Linked DNA regions of Homo sapiens: region 1 is linked to region 2. Evidence: promoter capture Hi-C in 16 types of primary human blood cells and fetal thymus (Javierre and others, 2016). All regions are on one chromosome and are shown on one strand. Each heading gives the region's core, a stretch centred on a gene start or on the middle of the fragment in contact. The rest is flanking DNA. Distances are from core to core; before and after follow the strand shown. Region 1 holds the start of MRPL58 (mitochondrial ribosomal protein L58). Region 2 holds the start of NT5C (5', 3'-nucleotidase, cytosolic).

Region 1 (4,230 bases), core at 1,058-3,557, 120 kb before region 2:
CCACCACACCTGGTCAATGATGAGTTTTAAGAGGCCATCTGGTGGGGCATGGTGGCTCATGCCTGTAATCCCAGCACTTTGGGAGGCCGAGTGAGCCAGGCGGATCACGAGATCAGGAGTTCGAGACCAGCCGGGCCAGCATGGTGAAACCCCGTCTCTACTAAAAATACAAAAATTAGTCGGGCATGGTGGTGCACGCCTGTAGTCCCAGCTACTCGGGAGGCTGAAGCAGGAGAATTACTTGAACCCAGGAGGCAGAGGTTGCAGTGAGCTGAAATCGTGCCATTGCACTCCAGCCTCGGCAACAGAGCGAGAGTCAATCTCAAAAAAAAAAAAAAAAAGGAGGTCTTCTGACCCAGGGCGGTACAGAGAAGAAGAAAGGGGTCCTATGTAGGTCCTATGTAGGACCCCCTACATAGGAATAGTACCCCAACTCATAGGCCCTATAGAAAGGCTTGTGTCTGCAAGCTCCTCAGCTGCCAGAAATGACCTCTTTCCTCTCTTCTCCCATGAATGTCCCCTCCCTGAAGCACCATCTCGGCCTATAGAAAACCAAGGAGGAGAAAGGGAAGACTGGCCTCAGCCTTTAGTGCCCATCTTTTTGGGAGAACAGGTGGCCCCTTTCTGGCCTTTCTCCCAGGGCCCCCATTCTGGATAGTTCACGGCAGCAGCAGGTAAGAGGAGCTTGCCAGCTGCTCCTCTCTCCACCCCAGGGCGGCTTGCCTCATTCTCTCCTCTACCCACCTCCTCTCCCAGAATCCAGGCCACCAGATGGCCCAAGCAGGCTGTGTTTATTTGGGGCCATGGAAACCTGCAGCTTCCTTTTCCTATTGCCTTGGGTCAGGTGCAGAGCTGGAGCCCAGCCTCAGAGCAATGATGTCATGGAAAGGTTCTGACTTTATTACTCATAACCCCTTAGCCCCCGACCTGAGTGAATGCCTGGTTTTGCTCCTCTGAGCAGCTTATTCCAGTTGCCATAGAGATGCGTCTATTCCCTTTGAGGTCTTGGGACTAAGTCAAACAGCGCGGGACCCAGGAGACTCTCCTCCCAACCCGAGATAGAGCCCGAGATATGTCAATTGTCACCCCTTTCTAGTCTGAGCTTATAAAGCCAGTGCTTAGAAAGTGGTTTATTCCTTCTTAAAGATTTGCTGTAGCCATAATGCGGAGATGGTAAAAGCTTGGTGTGATGACAATCTCCTGTTTCAATCAGCCAGCATCCCCGGGGGCACATTTTTCTAGATAATTATGCTTGTTCCTAAAAATAGAACTCTTCATTAAGAAACAATCGCTAGCATTACTAATAATTATGAACATTTATTTAGCTTTGTTTCCATTTACCACATAGCCTCTCAACACAGTAACTTAACTAAGGTTTAGCTGTTTTCAAACACTGCTTGCTCTACTGTGAACCTTTTTCAGAATTGGAACTTGTCTGTAGTTCATCCCTTACCAGCGCTATGAAAGGGTTCTAGTTAGCTGGCAGTTCTCTGAATTCTCTCCCTACCTCCCGAGGGACCCCCTCTCTCCTGGCTGGAAGAAAGCATCATCTTGCTCCATAAAGCTGAAGGGCGGGGGACGATGTTCCAGGTTTTGCAAACATTTCTTTCGGTGGCCTGCCTTCTCCTCCCATCTGGTATTTGTCCTGCAGAGCTGCTGGGTATAAGCCAGTACACACACGTGCTCAGCGGGGAATTTGCTCATAGGCTGCCTTGTAAAAAGAGCCTGGCGTTCCTAAAACTCAGCTCTACCAGAACCCAACTTTCAAAAGTACATTCCTACAGAATTCATTTTATCAGTACTCATGGGGTGCCCACGATGTGCCATGTTCTGGGTGCTGGGGATATACCAGTGAGCCGGTGCCCTCCTGGAGCTCACATTCCGGCTAGGAGACAGCAATTAGACAATTAGGACTGAGTGATTTTTGTAAAGGAAGAGAAAAAAGATAAATTAGAGCAGAGTAAAGGGGCTGGGAAGCGCGGGGCGGGAGATGCCCCAGGCTGGCCGGGCAGGCCTCGCTGCTGTTTGAATTGGGCAGTGGGCGGTCCAGGCGGAGGGCACGGACTCTGAAAGGAGAGAAGTGGTGTTTCTGGGGGCCACAAGATCGGGGCACTCTTCCGGTAGCAGCTCGCTCTCTGGCCACCGTCTTCCCCAGCCAACCAGGCCTCCCGGAGGCGGCCGGCCAGAAAGCATCGGCGGGACCCCAGTTTGCCGCCTCCCCTCGGCGGGACCTAGAAACTGCGCGGAACCAAAGCTCGAGGGCGGCTCGAGTTTGCGGACCGCGGGGAGGAAGCGCCCGCCGGAAGCAGTCGCAAGACCTGAGCATGGCGGCCACCAGGTGCCTGCGCTGGGGCCTGAGCCGAGCCGGAGTCTGGCTGCTCCCACCGCCCGCACGGTGCCCACGCCGGGCGCTGCACAAGCAGAAAGACGGCACTGAGTTCAAGAGCATCTACAGCCTGGACAAGCTCTACCCCGAATCTCAGGGCTCGGACACCGCCTGGAGGGTCCCGGTGAGCCGGGAAGGACTGGACGGAAGGGGCGTTTTGTCAGGCTGCTGGGTGACGTTAGGAACCCCAGGCCCATTGGCCGGATGTGGAGCTACGTCGGGGGGCTACGTGATGGTCGCCGCGGGAGGGGGCTGGCTGTCTGCGCTAACCTGGCCGGGAGTGGGGTGCTCGCTGTAGCGCGAGATGTGCAGGAGCCCGGAAGGCCGGCTGGGTATGCTTCTTTCAAGGCTGCCAGCTTTTCTACGTTCGTGTCCTTGGCCCTCAAGACCAAATTCCAGTCCCAAGGGGAAATACGGGCATTCTGGCCCTCCAAGGCGGACAATAAAGGCAAGAGGCTGCCAAGTTGTTTGCTACCCTTTGGGACGTTACAGTGTCCATTGTCTCTAGTAACCCCAGGACGCGCGAATAAAACAGCTTCTCTGTCGTTCCTTCAGGATGCATTTATTTAGCCAGCTGTGTGCAGGCATTGAATCAAGCCCCGGAGCAAGAGAGATAAGACCCACCCAAACCCATTGAGCTTCCACTTACAGGACTGGAAAAGAATATCCATTCATTTGTTCATTAATTCACTCACTCACTCAACAAAAGCTGTGCTAGGCTAGGGGATGGAGTAGCAAACAAAATTGAAATTCTAAAGCTTGTGGAGCTTATGTTCTAGTGGAGGGAGACAAGCAGTAAGTAAATGACTAATATAGAATGTGTGAGGTAGTACTTTGCAGAAAATAAAGCCAAGAAGGAAGAAGTAGTGCCAGAGGTAGGAAGTAGGGTTGCAATTTTAAGTAGGATTGTCTAGGAACGCTGTCAATGAGGTGGCATTTGAATAACGACCTGGAAGAAGCCAGACAGCAAGTCATGAGAATAGGGGGCGGATGAGCATCCTAGGCAGAGGGAAGAGAAAGTGCAATAACCTGAAGGCAGTAGCAATCCCCAGGTGTGGCTCAGCAGGGGTCAGGAGACAAAGCCAAAGAGAGGGATGGCTGGGGAAAGGCCTGTTACTAGGACTTAATGGCCTCCAGCCTTTCCTCTGAACGCAAGGGAGACCTATTGGAGAGCTTGAAGCAGAATGGAATTATCTTAGTTTTACAAGGATCACTCAGAGAGCCTTACAGAGAACAGATAGAGGATGCCAAGATCAGGGAGACAAGTAAGGAGATTGCAATGTAGGGCAAGAGATGATAAGCAGGGTGGAAGCAGTAGGAGTCATGAGAATTGGTCAGATCCTAGACGTATTTTGGAAAGAAAGCCTGCAAGATTTGCTAATTGATTGGATGTGAGAAGTGAGAATAAAAGAGGAATTGAAGTCTGGGGCCTTTTTTTTTTTTTTTTTTTTTTTTGAGACGGAGTCTCACTCTGTCGCCCAGGCTGGAGTGCAGTGATGCAATCTCTGTTCACTGCAAGCTCCGCCTCCCGGGTTCACGCCATTCTCCTGCCTCAGTCTCCTGAGTAGCTGGGACTACAGGCGCCCACCACTACAACCGGCTAATTTTTTTTTTTTTTTTTTTTAGTAGAGAGGGGGTTTCACCGTATTAGCCAGGTTGGTCTTGATCACGGGCGTGAGCCACCGCGCCAGGCTTTTTTTTTTTTTTTTTTTTGAGACAGGGTCTTACTCTGTCATCCAGGCTGGAGTGCAGTGGCGTGATCTCAGCCCACTGCAACCTCCGCCTCCTGGGTTCAAGTGATTCTTGTGCCTCAGCCTCCCGAGTAGCTGGGATTACAGGCATGC
Region 2 (4,296 bases), core at 477-2,976:
GGAAAATGGGGGTCCTTGCCTCTCGTGTACCCCCTCAAGGCTGACCCCTTAGATGGCCCAGGAATGGCAGGTGCTACAAAAATGGTACCCACGTGGGCATGGAAATGGGGCAGATTAGGGGACCACTGGACTCAGAGGGGAGGGAAGGGCTCATCAGCACCCGCTCAGGGAGCCTGTCCCTTTATGTTCCCAAATAAAGGGTCCTAGAAGACTAGAAAGCCAAGGTCTTTTATTAAAGGTCCCGACTGGTTTTCCCACTGTATTTCCATGCCAGCCAGGGTCCAGGGACAGCCTCTCGGGAGGTACCGGGTGGCTGGGCCTGGGGCCCGGTAGCACAGCGCTTAACGGTATCTGCCTGCTCCACTCCACGGGGCCAGAGGCACCAGCACGATGCCGCCCCGACTCGGCTCTGCGGTGGCCCCTGTGGGCCTGCCCTTCCTTTAGCTCCAGCTGCTGCCCGCGGCATCCCCGCTCATTCCCGCTGCGCAGCTCCGCGCTTGCTATCTAAGATCTCCCTCCAGTTGTCACTCCAGGAGAGCAGCCGTCTCCTTGTCGGGGGCAGGACCAGGTGCCGATTGTGGCAGCAGGTGAACAAGATGTGCTCCCAGCTTGGGGTCTCCTCCTGGCCTAGGACAGTGAAAGACAGCGCGCTGCCATCTGTCATGGGTATTATTACTCCCTCTCCCTAATCCGGGCAGGCCAGAGGCCTGGAGGCTGCCAAGGATAACGGGTCCAACCTCGAACTGTGTCCTTGTCATCAATGAGCAGGTCCCCCAAGACCACCGTCTTGTCCCTTGTCAGGATAATTCGTTCTACGAACTGGGGCCCCAGGTGCTGCTCCACCCAGCGGTACTGTGTAGAAAACACAGTCTGTGAGTAGGGCCTGATGGAAGCCGGAATTCAGGGATAGGGACTTGGCTCTAAGCCCTTGAGAGCCCCCCACCCCCACCTTCTGGGTTTCTGGTGGTTTCTTTTTAAAATCAGGATTTAGGCAGCTCCACGTGCGGAGTAGGGGCGGGGCAGCCACACCTTCTCACCCACACAGTGGTGGTACTTCAGCAGGGGGCTGGTGCAGATGAAGACCTGCGTGCTGCGGAGAAGGACGCGGTTACCGCCGGGAGCCAGGAGCCCGCCCAGGACTCCGCCCGCCCCCCTCTCTCCTTACTCCGGTAGGTCGTTCATCTCCCGCACAGCGTCCAAGGCTCCCGGGATGGGCTCCAGGTCCAGGAAAAAGCCCGGGGCTTCGTACACACTGGCCACTTTATCCTGAAAGACAAGAGTTCTGGGTCCCGGCTTCCCGTTCCCGCGAGGACCCGCAGGGAGGCTCCTGGGGGCTCCGGGCCCGAGCTCAGAGGGGCGGAGGGGGCGTCGGTCAGGGGCACGCGCCCAAAGGCTCCTCCCCAGGGTGCGCTGCCCGCGGGTTCCAGGGTGAGAGCTCTGCGCCCTTCACAGAGAAGGGGGAGACCCCCGGAACGGAGCGAGCGGGCCCTGCCCGGGTGGGGACCCTGCGCCCCCTACCGCCAGGTCGGGCCGCAGGGCGCGGTACTGCTCGCGGGCCAGGAAGCCGCGGCGTTGCTCCAGCGGCACGTGCGGCTCCTCAGGGAAGCGGCGGCGGAAGCCCCGCAGGAGGCCGGCCTCGAAGTCGGCCAGGACGCCGTCCATGTCCACCAGCACGCGCACGCTCCGCGCCATCGCCGCCGGGCCGGAGCTGCGAGCTCTCGGGGTCTGGGGGGCGCGGGCTCGGCCGGAAGCGGAGGGAGCGCTGCTTCCGGAGTCCGCCGGGCTGATTTGCATAGAGTGTCCGGGCCGCCCCGCCCAGGTCGTAAACCAGTGCCGACGGCCCTGCGGTTGCGCGAGGCCATCCTAGGGTTCGGGTGCAGGGACGGCTTTGGGGGGCACTTTTCTGACCCTGCGCTTCTTCGGGACCCAGCCTTTGTCCCCATCAGCCGCCTCCCACTTTACGGCAGACGTACCCCCGTTCACCCCACGTTACTAGTAGGGGACCGACCTTCCGGGGGCCCAACAAAGGGATGCTCTGAAATACTGGGAAGCATCTAACGAGGAGTCAAGGGTCCTAAACCCGTGGGGCTAGCTCCACATTTTTTTTCTTTTTTTCTTTTTTTTTTTTTTTATTTTGAGACGGAGTCTGGCTCTGTCGCCCAGGCTGCGGCGCAGTGGCGGCGCGATCTCGGCTCACTGCAGCCTCCGCTTCCCGGGTTCAACCGATTCTCTTGCTTCAGCCTCCCGAGTAGCTGGGATTACAGGCACCCGCCACCACGCCTGGCTAATTTTTGTAGTTTTAGTAGAGACGGGGTTTCGCCATGTTGGTCAGGCTGGTTTCAAACTCCTGACCTCAAGTGATCTGCCTGCCTTGGCCTCCCAAAGTGTTGGGATTATAGGCTTGAGCCACCGCACCTGGCCAAAGTCTTATTACCGCAGTACCGTGGTCTCAGTGGATTGCTTTCGTCTGTGCAGTGGAGCAGGAACAATCCCTCGAGGACTACAAAGTGAAATGAATCTGTTAACTGGTTTGTGTAAGTCTAGCTCGTTAAGAGACTAATTCACACTAGAGTTGGCTTGAAACATGGGAGCTTCAAGTGTGGTTTCCCCCGGAAAGATGATTTTGATCAAGCACAGGTAATCAGGACTGTCCTCAGGACTTTATGTGGAACTGACATCGCTTACCTACTCCCGTCTAGAAAATGCTGAACAGGGCCAGGTGCGGTGGCTCACGCCTATAATCCCAGCACTTTGGGAGGCCGTGGCGGGCGGATCATCTGAGGTCGGGAGTTCAAGACCAGCCTGACCAACATGGAGAAATCCTGTCGCTACTAAAAATACAAAATTAGCGTGGTGGCACATGCTTGTAATCCCAGCTACCCGGGAGGCTGAGGCAGGAGAATCTCTTGAATCCAGGAGGCAGAGGTTGCGGTGAGCCGAGATCATGCCATTGCCCTCCAGCCTGGGCAGCAAGAACAAAACTCCTTCTCAAAAAAAAAAAAAAAAAAAAAGAACATGCTGAACTGTGATACATTTTGTTGACTCTTCTTTTTGTGGATGTCATGAAACTTCCTGACTCCACTCAAATCTATTTGCCTACAAACTATAAAGCCAGGCGCCGTGGCTCAGGCTGGTAATCCCAGCACTTTGGGAGGCCCAGGTGGGAGACAGCTTGAGCCCAGGAGTTCAAGACCAGCCTGAGCAACACAGGGAGACCCTGTCTCTACAATAAACAAATCAATAAGCTGGGTATGGTGGCGCATGCCTGTGGTCCTAGCTACTCATGAGCCTTAGGTGGGAGGAACCCTTGAGCCCAGGAAATTGAGGCTACACAGCCTTCATCCTGCCACTGCACTCCAGCCTGGGTGACAGAGGGAGTCCCTGTTGGGGGAGGGGAGAGCCAAAATTATAAACACAGATTTAAGTGGCCCATCTCGCCATTGTTCCCCATCTGATGAACCCACTGCTTCCAAATATATGTAACAGAGGCTGGGCACGGTAGCTCACGCCTGTAATCCCAGCACTTTGGGAGGCTGAGGCGGGCGGATCATGAGGTCAGGAGATCAGGACCATCCTGGCTAACACGGTGAAACCCTGTCTCTACTAAAAATACAAAAAAAAAAAAAAAATTAGCTGGGCATGGTGGCGGGTGACTGTAGTCCCAGCTACTCAGGAGGCTGAGGTAGGAGAATGGCATGAACCCGGGAGGCAGAGATTACAGTGAGCCAAGACCACGCCACTGCACTCCAGCCTGGGCCACAGCGAGACTCCGTCTCAAACAAACAAACAAACAAAACATGTAATAGAAGCATCACACACACAAAAAAACCTGACAGGGCCGGGTGCAGTGGCTCACGCCTGTAATCCCAGCATTTTGGGAGGCCGAGGCAGGTGGATCACAAAGTCAGGAGTTCGAGACCAGCCTGACCAACATGGTGAAACCCCATCTCTACTAAAAATACAAAAACTAGCCGGGCATGGTGGGACATGCCTACAAATCCCAGCTACTCAGGAGGCCAAGGCAGGAGAATTGCTTGAACCCGGGAGACAGACGTTGCAGTGAGCCAAGATCATGCCACTGCAGTCCAGCCTGGGTGACAGAGCCAGACTCCATCTCAGAAAAAAAAAAAGCCTGACAAACCAGTCTAAGAGGGGCTCAAGTCAACATGCATATGACTCATAGATACGCAGACATTTTGGAGGCCCAGACTTGCGAGTTATCTCAAGGGGAAGCAGTCTTGGGGGCTGAGCCCTCAACTTGTGGAATCAAAGCTATCTCCAGGTAACTGATTGTCA

What was found. Contacts are between HindIII fragments. The CHiCAGO score rates a contact against its expected background, and 5 or more counts as called.
Region 1: the fragment with the promoter of MRPL58 here is called in contact with the fragment with the promoter of NT5C in region 2 in 1 of 17 cell types (endothelial precursors); the score reaches 5.0 in endothelial precursors.

Annotation. Positions count from the first base shown.
Region 1 is chr17:75,010,363-75,014,592 of GRCh38, forward strand. MRPL58 (mitochondrial ribosomal protein L58) reads left to right here and starts at 2,308. Exons shown (of 6, transcript NM_001545.3): 1 at 2,308-2,510. The coding sequence starts at 2,325. RefSeq lists enhancers at 1,936-2,085, 1,952-2,635, 2,176-2,485, 2,536-2,615, 2,636-3,318 and a silencer at 2,101-2,283. The HindIII fragment of the contact is 1,964 bases long and covers 1,179-3,142 here.
Region 2 is chr17:75,130,016-75,134,311 of GRCh38, forward strand. NT5C (5', 3'-nucleotidase, cytosolic) reads right to left here and starts at 1,727. Exons shown (of 5, transcript NM_014595.3): 1 at 1,519-1,727; 2 at 1,166-1,266; 3 at 1,030-1,090; 4 at 738-852; 5 at 213-627. The coding sequence starts at 1,692. The coding sequence ends at 473. It overlaps ARMC7 (armadillo repeat containing 7), which reads left to right. Exons shown (of 3, transcript NM_024585.4): 3 at 1-257. RefSeq lists an enhancer at 620-709 and silencers at 746-950, 1,320-1,889. The HindIII fragment of the contact is 6,056 bases long and covers 1-4,296 here.